4 separate regions of the Homo sapiens genome follow, and regions 1, 2 and 3 are each linked to region 4. Evidence: promoter capture Hi-C in 16 types of primary human blood cells and fetal thymus (Javierre and others, 2016). All regions are on one chromosome and are shown on one strand. The core of a region is centred on a gene start or on the middle of the fragment in contact, and the rest is flanking DNA. Distances in the headings are between cores, read along the strand shown. Region 1 overlaps NHSL2 (NHS like 2). Region 2 holds the start of CITED1 (Cbp/p300 interacting transactivator with Glu/Asp rich carboxy-terminal domain 1). Region 3 overlaps NHSL2 (NHS like 2). Region 4 holds the start of PIN4 (peptidylprolyl cis/trans isomerase, NIMA-interacting 4).

Region 1 (3,013 bases), core at 235-2,734, 86 kb before region 4:
TGTTCAAGGGCACCTGGTACATCAGAGAGATGGATAACCTCCATGGGAAGAGACTTTGCACCCCAATTCACTAAGAGCCCCTTCTCTCCCAGACATCAGTATAAATCCTTAGGATCTATTGCTTGAGTAACCTTATGATTCTCGACTTCCAGGCCCAAGAGAATGATAACCAAATTTTTGCAGTTGTCACCCTAACACTGGGACCTGCCTGCCTGTCCATCATGGAGCTCTAAGTATACTTGAACCACATGTGAGGAGTAATTGGGGCAAATTTTAGATTCAACCCTGGATTTGGCAATGCCCTTTACCATGAGCCCACCATTGCAACGCAGGGTGCAGTAAAGCAAGAGCATTGCAAAGCTCTTTCTGAAACCAGAATTTTGCCATAATGCCTCCTGCTAACAGTGTTGCCTGATTAGCAGACACAATGGGACCATCAGGCCTTATCAGCACCACTTGGTCTAAAACAGAAACCAGGAAGGGCTGTCTCTCAGTGCTTGGCCCCTGTTGCCATGGCCCCTGTTGCCATGGTTCCCAAGCACTTTTGCTTATGATTTCTCTCAATCGCTTATAGCATCCATCAGCAAGCAGGACCTAGAAGCTCTTTCGGGCAGACTGAGAAGAAAGCTGTAAACAGGAAAGATAAGAGCAAGTAAGGGAAGTAATTAAACGAGCAAACAAGAAATGTAGATGGAAAGAATTTGGGGTGAGGCCCAGAAAACAGCTTTTGTTATGTAAAAGAAATCTTCTTGAGATGTGATAGACCAAGGTGTCTGGGTCAGAATTTGCCAAGAAGTGCCCATTATGTAGCTGCCATGTGGTATAGGTACAGCAACTCTGTGCCCTGGATTTTCCAGAAAAGTCCCAGTTTCAAGTATTTTATTCTGTTTGTCAGACCAAGAATTCTGATTTGAGATTCAGAAAATAAGGTCACTGTAGTTAGAGTAGTCATCCAGGAAAGCCTGATTTAGAATCCATTGTCCTCCCGGGCTGGTTGGCAGGGAATCCCCACAGGACTTGCCTCTAGGGCCCTGAAGGCCTGAGTAAAGTAGCCCCTTATACAGCCAAGAAATATCAAAGTGCCTCTCAACTCCATGCCCTCCACACTCCCGTAGCTCTCTGAGGGGTTTAGCCAGAAAGGCATGGGCTTTTGACCCCCATAGACCTGGATTTCAATATGCTCTGCATTAACTCTGCCAACATAGGCAATGCTCTGAGCCTCAATTTCCTCATCTGCAAAATGAGAGCAATAACACAGGGTTATGACAGGGTTATTCTGAGCATCAAATGAAGTTTTTGTTACCTTTAAAGCACTGTACAAATGTGCACTGCTAAAATCCATTCCTTCATTCAACAAATAAGTGTCTACTACATGCCAGGCATGAGGCCAGGCCTGAGATTACAGTGGTCATCAAAACAGACAGGGTTCCTGCTGGCACCCTGAGCTTTCAGGTCACAGGGGTAGACATATTAGCCAAAGATCTCCTCATCCGAGGTCCAAGCAGAAGGGAGATGCAGTAGGGCTGCTCTTTTAAAAAGCTGACTGTGGCTGCTTCGTAGAGCCAGAGGGCAGGAGAGGGGGCTGGGAGGCCACTTAGGAGACTTCTGCCTGCAATAGTGGCTTGGTCTAGGGTGGTGGCAGTGCTGATGGTAAGAAATGGCCAGATTCTGGACAGATTTGGTAAGTAGAATCAACGGAACTTGGTGACGGACTAACTTTTGGGAGTGAGGAAGAGGCAAGGAGATATTTTAGCTAACTGTGTCCCCAGGACTTGGGCCACTGGAGCCCATAAAGCCAATCCCAAGGCTGGTGAGGTACAATGTATGGAGGGTCCATTTCTCCTTATCTCGCCTCTGTAGAGCAGTATGATGTCAGTCCTTCAGTCCAGAAATCAGCTTGCTAGACTTAATCTGAAAAAAGCATTTAGTACTTAAAAATTGTATAGGATAATATATGGCATTCTAGCTTTATGTTGAACGCAGAATTCCTCTTAAAGGTAAATTGTTTGCTTCCAATTTTTAAGTTGTTTTAAAATTGACAAATGTAATTATTTGTACATATACATGGGGTATACAGATAATGTATAGTGATCAGATCAGGGTAATTAGCATACCCATTATCTCAAACATTTATCATTTCTTTGTGTTGGGAACATTCAGTATCCTCCTTCTAGCTATTTGAAACTATATATTATCATTTGGGTTTTTTAATTCTTTCTTCTTTTAGAGACTGGGTCTCACTGTGTTGCCCAGGCTGGACTCAAACTCCTGGGCTCACGCGATCGTCCTGCCTCAGCCTCCCGAGTAGCTGGGACTACAAGCACATGCCACCATGCCTAGAAATGATACGTGATTTTTAACTATAGTCATCCTGCAATGGCATAGAACACTAGAACTTTTTCCTCCTCCCCAGCTGTAATTTTGTATAATTTAACAAATCTCTTCCTAGCCCTCCAATTTTTGAATGGGATATTACTTTAAAAATAGCTGAGTTACCATTAACTTAGGATGCTGAAAACGTTCTTCAGTCTAGGTGATCTCTTCTGGGACCAACATATGTTCTTTGAATTGGATTCCTTTCAAACCTTGGGCCCAGTAGTTTTTGTACCAACAGGTTGGAAGAGAAGAGGGCCCAAAAGGGGAAGAAATGGGAAGGGCCACAGACAAACTTAAGTTTCATAACAGTTAACCACACTTAACCGCAGTTAACTATGCTTTACAGCTTCCAGGGGAATTTCACATATATCATTTGTTGTCATATTCTGCAAATTCAGGACCATGGCTGTCTCCTGACTCCCCGTCCAGTGTTCCTGCTACTGATTGCACTGCCAGGTTCTTAACTTTTTGGGGGAGAAGGGGGAGGGGAAGGTCTCTCTGTGATAAACAAAAAAGTTCCAACAGACATTCAAAACCCTTCTTTATTCTAAAGAATTTATTCCATTTGCATTGAGAAGGAGTGTAAAAGAAAATTTGGTATTTTCCCACACCACTTGTCCCCTACACACATCAACAG
Region 2 (2,874 bases), core at 144-2,643, 120 kb after region 4:
TTTCCTGTCCTAAGAAAAATGTCTGGGGGCCCTGTCCATCTTTTCCTGTTCCTATCCAGCCTTCCCTCTCCTTTTTGCCGCTTGGTACCCGAATGTACAAAACGAAGAAAAAACAACAGGAGCAGCAGCAACAACAGCAAAACCAAAAGAGAAACATTAGAAAAATCAAAAGAGAGAACGAGCAAAAAAACTCTCTCTATTCTGATATCAGTTCGTGGGGGAAGACCATTTTACCGCGCCTCCCTCTTCAATCTGGGAGCTCCCCCAGAAGAGGCCCTGTGTCCATTCAGATCTTCTGCCTTCCATTACTGACCCACCACCCACCCTGACCCCAGCCTGGGTCTGCGCTCAATAGGCGCTCAGTAAGTGTTGTTGAATGCGTCTGAAGAAGCAATCGCATTTCCATCGGCATCCCTGGCTCTGCTTCCCCGGCTTTCTGCCCTCCTCCACCACCCTCTAGCCCGTTCGTGGGCAAAACTTGGCAACGCGGAAACGTCCCAGCCCGCTCTCCAAGCCGCGAGCTGACCACTGCGAAACGGCTGCGACAGGCGGCTGGGAAACCTAGAGCAACAAGTGCCTTCTCGCCGGCTGATGCCTGGCGGCCCCCCGGCCACCAGTTCCCAGTCCCGCTGCCCGCTCTTCGCTTCAGGCCTTCCCTTGGGCGAGCAGCCCCCTCCCGCCTAGACAGGGGTGGGAAGGGGAGAGGGAAAAGAGAAGGGAGAGGCAGGTGGGGGCCTCATCTTTAACCTGTTGGGGGACCAAAAGTTAAAATGGCACCAACCGGATGGTTCCATCTCGATTGCTATTTTCTCACTCAGAAGGAGAAATTTAAAAATCCAAACAGCACTGCGGCTTGGCTTGGACGCGCTCTAACCAGACCAGTCAGTTTCGCCACCTGAAAACTAAAGGCCCGTTGTTTGCGGACAGCTCGGCTGCCCTCCTCGCCGCATCCCAGATGGAGCCGCGGAACCGGGGGCGGCCGGGAGCATCCCTTGCACGGCGGGCGCGTGCACCCAGGCCACCGGGGCCCTGAGCGTCCGTTCCCGCAAGTGCTGTATCAGGAACTGATCTTAGAGACAGGATGGACAGGCAGGAAGGGGCACGGGGTGTCGGCCTCCGCGGCGAGTCCGCACTCCGGCGCCGGCTGCTGCCACTCTCGCGCCTGATCAACACTTACTGAGCGCCCGCTGAGCATCCGACGCGGCAGCAGGCTGAGCCTACCCCCTAGCCAAGCCGCCTGCGGTCAGTGCTAAAACCCCGCTAGGAGAAGAGTGAGAGAGGCTCGGAGAGGTGCGGTAACTTGCCCAAGGTCACAGCGCTAGAAAGTGGCGGAGCCGGGATTCGCAGCCAGGTCTCTCTGACTCCAAGTCCGGTGCTCTGCGAAGCAGGGACTCGGCGCGCGGCTCGCCAGCCCGCGTTTATAGGGAGAGGGGTGTGCGCGTGGGTGTGTGTGTGTGGGCGTGTGTCGGGGGAGGGGAGGGCTGAGGTCGACTGGGCAGTAGAGGCAAGTTGCCCAAATTCGCTAACTTCCATCCCGCAATTCCGCTGAACTCGGCCCGAAAAGCCCCCTCTTGCCTCAATTCCCCGAAGTAAATCTGAGCTTTGTGCAGCTCCGGAGCCAGAGCGTCCAGATGCGGTCCGGGAGATTAGCAAAGTCGGTGGAAGCCAAGCTGGAGAAAGCGCGGGCGCAGGGAGAAAAGGTGCTGCCGTCTCCCCGGGAGAAGCGGGCACCCGGCCCCGCTGGCCGGCAGGGGGGCGCGCTGGCAAGCGAACCCGAGCGCTGGCGGGCGGGCGGGCGGGCGGCCCCTCGCCCCCAGCAGAGCAGCTTTCCAACAGAAAGCAAGTCTCCCCAGAACCCTCCGGCCCGCCTGGCGGCCGCCCACTCCCCATACCCGCTCCACGGGAGTCCTCGGCCCCGCCGCCCAGCCCGGCGCCCAGCCCGGCGGCCCGGCTTACCTCTGAGAAGCCGCCTGCCCTGGAGAGAGGGAAGCGCGGAGCTCGGTGAGCCGCAAGAGAGGCGGCGGAGCCCCCAGCCCCTGGCACGCACGCCGCCGCCACCGCTACCGCGAACCGGTCGCGCTCAGCGCCCGCGGCCGCGCCGTTGGCCACCCGACCCCGGGGCGCCTGGGAAAAGCCCGCACCGCGCCGCGCCGCCGCTGCACCGCACAGTGCCGCGCCAAGCAGCCCCTGACCGAGCTGGTGCCCGCCCGCCCGCCCGCAGCTTCGGCGCCGGACTCCGGGGCGGTGGCGGTGGCGGCCACCGCGCTCCCTTCCCGGCGCTGGGGACCCGGCTCTCAAGCCCCCATTGCCGCCCGGAGAGCCCTGACGCACACGCACACGGCAGCAGACTGGCCTCGGCTAGGAATCCCAGGAAGGACAGACCCTTTTTTTCCCTTTTTTTTTCTCCCCTCAATTTCCACGTCTTTATAACCGGCTTAGGGCATTATTAGCACATGTCCTGGCTCGTGGGCGAGTTGGTGGCAAAATCTGAACTGGATACTCACGGAGGGCCCGCGCGGGTGCTGTGCCGTCCGCTGCTCTCTTCCTCCTCACCGAGAACTGCCCCTCGCCGGCGGACTACAAGAGGGCAGCCGGGCAGAGCGAGCTTCCTCTCGGCAGCTCAGCGGTGCCCCTTCTGCAGCTTTGCCGCCGGGCACATTTTTATAGCAGCGGCTGGCGTCTGTGGCCCTTTAAAGGCGCTCGAGCTGGTGCAGTCACCGCGGATCGTGTGAAAGCAAAGGGCCGGCTGGGGAACGGAGTCCACGCGGCCACGCGAGTCCGGCAGCCCTGTGGACCGGCCAAGGCTCCCGGGGTGGGGCTGGCGAGTCCGGGCTATGGGCAGCCCTCGCCCGGAGCCCTGGCCAGTGCCCGGCT
Region 3 (2,898 bases), core at 165-2,664, 120 kb before region 4:
GATCAGGTCATGCCAACCTGGGATGCTGCGTGTTGTGGAAGTTAGGCATATCTGACAACGGGAAATACTTCCTGAAGACACAGCCTTCGGACCCCTGGTTACCTAGAAGGGAGCTCAGGACTCCTCATCGACAAACATAAAACCAGCTCCCTGCCCACTGCCCAACCTCCAGGAGATGCCCCCACAGGCTTGTGTGAGCCCAAGGCAGGCCTCAAGCTGATTCAAGGGCCCAGCTGCCCGTTGCCATGGCAACATTCCAGCTCGCTTTGCATAGTGACAGGGATGCTAGGCTTTGCTAACAAAGTGCTCTGTAAAGGACTTCATGTCTTTGGCAGGGACAATTCCGCCTTCTTTTTCACATGAATAACTCTGGGGGCTGTGAGGAGGGATTTGGCAAGTCACTTCCCCTGTCTTGGCCTGCGCCCTTGGGTTTTCCTTGAAGGCACAAGTTGGCAGCTTTTTATTTTTCTATTTCCAAATATACCATCACTACCCTCCTCCTGACCACTCCCCACTCCAAAGGAAAGAATGGTTTTTCCCTTACTTAGAGCTCTGGTGAACTCGGTGTGTTTATGAAAATGGAAGGAATGGACTGTTCGAATCACTCACATACCCTTGGCTGATTGCTGGATCAAATTGTCCTCAATCCCTTTTTCTTTTTTCGGAATGCCCAATGTTTTTCAGGATTGAAACAGGAAGACCCTATATTGTCCTGGTGAATTACTCCCTGGAGCAGGAAACATATTTGGAATCCTGAGTAGGCTGGGAAGGAAGCCAGGCAGACCTGGGTGAATCCTGCTTTCATCACTTACAAGCTGTGTGATCTTTGGCAAGTTACTTAACTTCCCCTAATCTCAGTTTTCTCATACGTGCAATGGGGATGGTAATACAGCCTTCATGGGTATGATGGTGAAATTGTTATGAGGTTTAAATATATCTTATGCTTGCCTGCTTCTCTCTGTTTCCGTCACCCTGATCCTGGCCCATCATCTTTTGCCTGGACTACTACGATAGCCTCCTGCCCATTTCTACTGGAACTTCCCTCCAGCCCTTTGTTTACATAGCAGACATGGTGGTCTTTTAAACATTTAAATCATATCCTGTCGCTCCCTTGCTTAAAATGCTCTAATGGTTTCCCATTGCACTTCAGATAACATCCACCTCTTACCCCCTACCTCTTCCACCCTAGACATGCTGGCTTCCTTTCCATTTCTCAAAGACATCGAGGTCCCTCTCACTTCGTGGCCTCATGGCCTTGGCACTTTCTGTTCCCTCTGCCAGCTCCTTCTCAGGCTCAGTTCTTAGCTCGGAGAGAACTTCTCTTACCACTCATCCAAACTAGCTCCCCATGCCTGCCCCATCCCTTGCCATCACACATCACCATGCTGATTTCCTTCATGGCACTTCTCAGGAACTAGTCCTACCTTGATTATTCGTGTACTTGGTTATTGTCTGTCTCCTCTGCCTGGATTGTAAACTCTTTACATCTGCCTCATTAACCTCTATCACCCACTGCCCAGCACAGGGCCTAATATAATAGGCTCAATAAAATCTATTGAATGAATGAATGAGGTAGGTAGAGCATTGAGAACAAAGCCTGAAAGATAATAGAGTGCAATACATGTTTGTTACTTTCTTTTTGTCTTCTTCCATCATCTGGTTGTAAGGCAGAGGGTGGTGTGCTAGACCTGTGGCCTCCAAAGTGGATATATCGTCTATTAGGGTGCAAGGAGAAAATATTAGAATTTCTATTAACAGTCATCTTTATCATATCCTAATTTCCATGTTTGTTTATGTTTTAAATTTTATAAAACTGATTAGCACAGTAGTACATATATATGGTTTATACATAAATATGTATATATGGGAGTATAGGCTCAAAAATACTTGGAGACCACAGCTGGTGGGAAGCAAACTGGCAGACTGTTGGCAGAATGTGAACTACAGATAGGTTGGGTTGAGTCAGCAGAGAGGTTTCCCAGATTGGAGGTTGAGTGCCTTGGGAACAGGGTTGGGGGTGGCCAGCATGCATGCTCCAGGTCTCCACCACACCCTGTGGCTTACCCTAGCCTACTTCATTCATGGCCCTGTCCTTCCTGACCATTACAGGCGTGTGCATTTCCAACCCTAGAGAGGGTTTCCTTTGCAAGTCTAGAGAACCTTCTATTCTGGAAATTGGTGCTGGTCGATCCCAAGGGGGAGGTATGTGGGAAAGACTGAGGCCTAGGAGCCCCCTGTGGGCAGCAGCTGGGGCTTCTCATTCTTGTGTCCTCTGTAACCAGAATAGTACCTGGAACAGAGTGGGTGCTTGGATCATCAGAGAACCTGCTTGTTGACTAATATCAGTGCATAGGACAACCCCCTCTGAGTGTCTGAGCTGAGAGGACCCTCAGGAGGTAATTAGGTTCATATGTTTCACTGTCCGGATGGAAACTAAATGGGGCTCAAAATGGCCAGGGCCTGCCCAAGGTCATAGAGCCTCCCGCCAGCACTCTTTCCCTTGTGTCTGCGTCTCTGCTTAGCCTCTGGGGTGTATGCTTATTCACGATCCAGGCCTTGGCTGGTTCCACCCCCTTGGCCTTGGCCTACTACTCTTAACACCAGCTCTCAGAAGGCGTTCTGGCTTCTTACTGGGATAGGGGCCAAAAAAGAAAAACATTTCCCAAATCATAATTCTACAGCCTCCTGCCTCCCCCAAACTCACTTTCTATGTAACTAATCCCCGTGTTCCTTGGCCATTAATGACATCACTGCCTTTCTGGTCACTTTGGCCCAAAATACAAAGTGTTCTACCTCCCTTGAGTAGGGGCTACTATGTGTCAGGCACTTTCTAAAAAATAAACTTTGTATGGGCAATTAACATACAAAAAAGCCACACACGTTGATGAATGATCACAA
Region 4 (3,273 bases), core at 514-3,013:
AAAAATAAAAAAAAAAAAAAAAGAAAGAAAAATCAAAAGTAAATGTTCCTCTTGGGCCTCTTGGCCATAGATAACCTGATGAACACAAGGCTACGCTGTCATCGTCAACACCCAATCCCAACTCCCCCGCCCCTCCATCTCGCAGCCGAACTTGGAGAATTAGTACAGGTGCGGGATCCACTTCAGAAGTGGCAGAGCAATGATCCCCTCACCACTAGATGTGTCCTCCGCAGTTGATCACTCCCAATCCGAAAACAAGGAGTGCCCAAAATGTGTCCAGAATTTAAAGCAGCCAAACATAAGAGGGCTCCATGTTATGTCTTGAGTAGGGAATGAGCACAGTCTCAGAAACACCTGATTCCCTGGTATGAGCATGAAGCATCTCCAGGTCCAGCAAGGCTGCATCCAAAAACTAAACTCTGAGCTGGAAGACCTCTATATTCTGGCTGGTAGTGGCAAGCTAGGACAGCTCTCTCATGGACTGGAGGAAACGCCCTGACATATCATATACAAATTATTGATGGTGGGAGGGATTGTAAGGGGAGAAAAAGTGTGTGGGCACAAATTCAAAAATCATTTATCTTAGGCAAACATTATTAATATGAGCAAGCCATCATTTTATGTGCTTTACAGATATGAACTTGTTTAATTCTCTTAACACCTGATAGGATAATAGTAGGTACTATTATCATCAACTCCATTTCACAGATGATGAAACTGAGCCAAAGAGAGGTGAAGTAACTTCCTCAAGGTCATGGAGCTAGTAGACAGATGTGGAGCAGGGATTTGAAACTGGGCAATCTGGCTCCAGAATCCATGCTTTTACTACACTATGCTGCACCATTATGGAAATTTTGGAAAATACACAGAAACAAACACGATGACCTGTATGCACTAGCACCACTGGCCACATCTTGCTCTATAGCTTTCCTCTCCTTTATATTCATATAACATACAATACATTACATATACTTCTTTTACAAGGAATCATATTCTTTATCTTGGTCTTAAAAACATTTCCCCTATCTGTACACACAGCCTTACAATCGTTATTTTGAATGTTGTATAATATCTTCTTGTGTGGCTAAAACATTATTTAAGCAGTACCCGACTGAGGAGCACTCAGACTGCTTCCAATGTTTCTCCATGACTGAGCTCTGCAAGACGCAAAAAGGTGACAGGCTTTTTTAAAAACTACCTTTTGAACCTAATTAGCTACAACTGCAGAATAAAATTAACAAACGAAAAACTGCCAGGGAGGGCAGCCCTGTGTGTAGGAGGAGACAGCGGAAGTTGGCCGCCACCACAGTACTCCTGCTTCCCTTTGTCTGGCGGCCCCGCGGGATTGGCCAGAGCTGGCGCCGAGGGACTGCAGAGCCACCCACCCCCGTGGCTCCTACTGCGCACGCGTGAAAAAAGCCAGGTTGAGGGGAACGGGGGAGCTTCGGGCGTAGAGTGTGGGGAGTGGGGGATCTGGTGCAAATTAGGGTGCGTGAAAGAAGTCACAAAAAGCGCAGAGGCCAGGCTTCCCGCCCTAATCCGGCCTTTGTCTCCGCCCCTCTGCCTTTGTTTCGGCCCAAGCGTCTTATTGGTCAGACATCTTCAGCCCCATTGGTCCAAGAGCCAAAGGACGGGGTCTGCCCCAAGCTGTGCCTGCTTCCGGAGCCGCAATAAGAACGGTCAATTGAGATGCGGCTTTCAGGCATTTGTTTAGGACATGCCCATGGCGGGGCTTCTAAAGGGGCTTGTACGGCAACTGGAGCGGTTCAGCGTTCAACAACAAGCTTCCAAGATGCCGCCCAAAGGAAAAAGTGGTTCTGGAAAAGCGGGGAAAGGTAGAGCGGCCAGAGCGATCAAGGAGAATGGGGGCGGGTGAGGAGCGAAGGGAGGGAACAGACAGTCCATCTCCGGAGTCCGGGACGGACGCAGCAGGTAGCCAGTGGCCCCACAGTGCTGCCATCGATTACATCTGTAGGAATACATTGGGCTACGGTTCAGGGACCGTCCTAGTGGGTAATGGAATCTGATGGGGATAGTTCCTCGGAGGCGATGACTTAGGGCTGCTATTTCAAGGGGTTATTAGAGCTCTAAAATTGGGTCTTATCAAAAGCCAGCAATAGGAAGTACACATTGGTTATGGTCCTTAAAGTTCACTTTAATGCTTACAGAATGACATGCCCACCATCGGGGAAGGAATCATTCATCCATTGAACAGAAATGTGTCAGGCAGAGTGCTAAGCGCTGAGGATACACAAATAAGACAGAAGGCTGGGCGCGGTGGCTCACGCCTATAATCCCAGCACTTTGGGAGGCCGAGGGAGGATGGATCACGAGGTCAGGAGTTCGAGACCAGCTTGGCCAACATGGCGAAACCCCGTCTCTACTAAAAATACAAAAATTCGCCAGGCGTGGTGGTGGTGCGCGCCCGTAATCCCAGCTACTCGGGAGGCTGAGGCAGGAGAATCGCTTGAACTCGGGAGGCAGAGGTTGCAATGAACCGAGATCGCGCCACTGCACTCCAGCCTGGGCGACAGAGCGAGCCTCTGTCTCAAAAAAAAAAAAGAGATTTTGGCCTTAAGGAGCTCCCGAAGTAGTGAGGAAGATAAAGGCTTAGTGATCATAAAGCACTGTACTAAATGTAGTGTTGAGGGATGTGTATGGGATATAATAGAAATTGAGGGAAGTCCTTCATTTAGCTGGGGAACAGGGAACGGAAGACTTCCTGGAGATGAATTAGGCAGGTCAAGATGTGCATTGAGGGTAGGTTAAAGCATTCCTTACTTGGGGTCCAGCAGCAAAAGCACTGAGGTGAGAAACAGCATGATGTGTGCAGCGTAGTGTTGCTGGAGCAAAAACTCAAGGCAGAATGGCAAGTGGTGAGAATGAAAACAGAAACAAAGACGAGATCATGGAGAGTGCTATATATTCTGCTAAGAAGGACAGTTAAGGATCAGAAAGACCTGTAAGGAGATTGTTGTGGTAGTCTTGGTGAGAGATGATGGTGGACTGACCTAAGGGAGTGGCTGTGGGAACTGAGAAAAGAGAAAAGATTCTGTAAATATTAGGATGTGAAATAGTCAAGACTTGGTGATTTATTGGGTTGGGGAGGGGTGGTGAGGGAGGATCAACGATCATTCTGTTTTCTGGATTGGATTTCTAACCTGTTGCTGGTCCTGCAGGGTAACATCAAGGATACATGAGGAGCGGGGATGAGATTGATGAATTCACTTTCAGATAGATTGGCTTTGAGGTGTCTGTGGGACATCTCAGTGG

Evidence for each region. Contacts are between HindIII fragments. The CHiCAGO score rates a contact against its expected background, and 5 or more counts as called.
Region 1: a contact is called between a fragment that was not itself captured here and the fragment with the promoter of PIN4 in region 4, in 1 of 17 cell types (total B cells). The highest score is 5.2, in total B cells.
Region 2: a contact is called between the fragment with the promoter of CITED1 here and the fragment with the promoter of PIN4 in region 4, in 7 of 17 cell types (total B cells, naive B cells, activated CD4 T cells and 4 more). The highest score is 9.5, in total B cells.
Region 3: a fragment that was not itself captured here is called in contact with the fragment with the promoter of PIN4 in region 4 in 1 of 17 cell types (neutrophils); the score reaches 5.5 in neutrophils.

What each region holds. Positions count from the first base shown.
Region 1 is chrX:72,094,581-72,097,593 of GRCh38, forward strand. The region is part of intron 1 of NHSL2 (NHS like 2); the gene reads left to right. Among named protein-coding and RNA genes, the nearest start is that of RTL5, 36 kb to the right of the region's middle. The HindIII fragment of the contact is 8,021 bases long and covers 1-3,013 here.
Region 2 is chrX:72,304,521-72,307,394 of GRCh38, forward strand. CITED1 (Cbp/p300 interacting transactivator with Glu/Asp rich carboxy-terminal domain 1) reads right to left here and starts at 1,394. Exons shown (of 3, transcript NM_001144887.2): 1 at 1,305-1,394. LOC105373250 (a long non-coding RNA gene) reads left to right here and starts at 1,582. Exons shown (of 3, transcript XR_938441.2): 1 at 1,582-1,700. RefSeq lists a silencer at 2,379-2,673 and an enhancer at 2,400-2,449. The HindIII fragment of the contact is 8,247 bases long and covers 1-2,874 here.
Region 3 is chrX:72,060,543-72,063,440 of GRCh38, forward strand. All of the region lies in intron 1 of NHSL2 (NHS like 2), which reads left to right. Among named protein-coding and RNA genes, the nearest start is that of RTL5, 70 kb to the right of the region's middle. RefSeq lists a silencer at 77-371. The HindIII fragment of the contact is 4,014 bases long and covers 1-2,898 here.
Region 4 is chrX:72,179,994-72,183,266 of GRCh38, forward strand. It overlaps PIN4 (peptidylprolyl cis/trans isomerase, NIMA-interacting 4), which reads left to right and starts at 1,764. Exons shown (of 4, transcript NM_006223.4): 1 at 1,764-1,835. The coding sequence starts at 1,793. RefSeq lists an enhancer at 1,804-2,023. The HindIII fragment of the contact is 4,711 bases long and covers 1-1,782 here.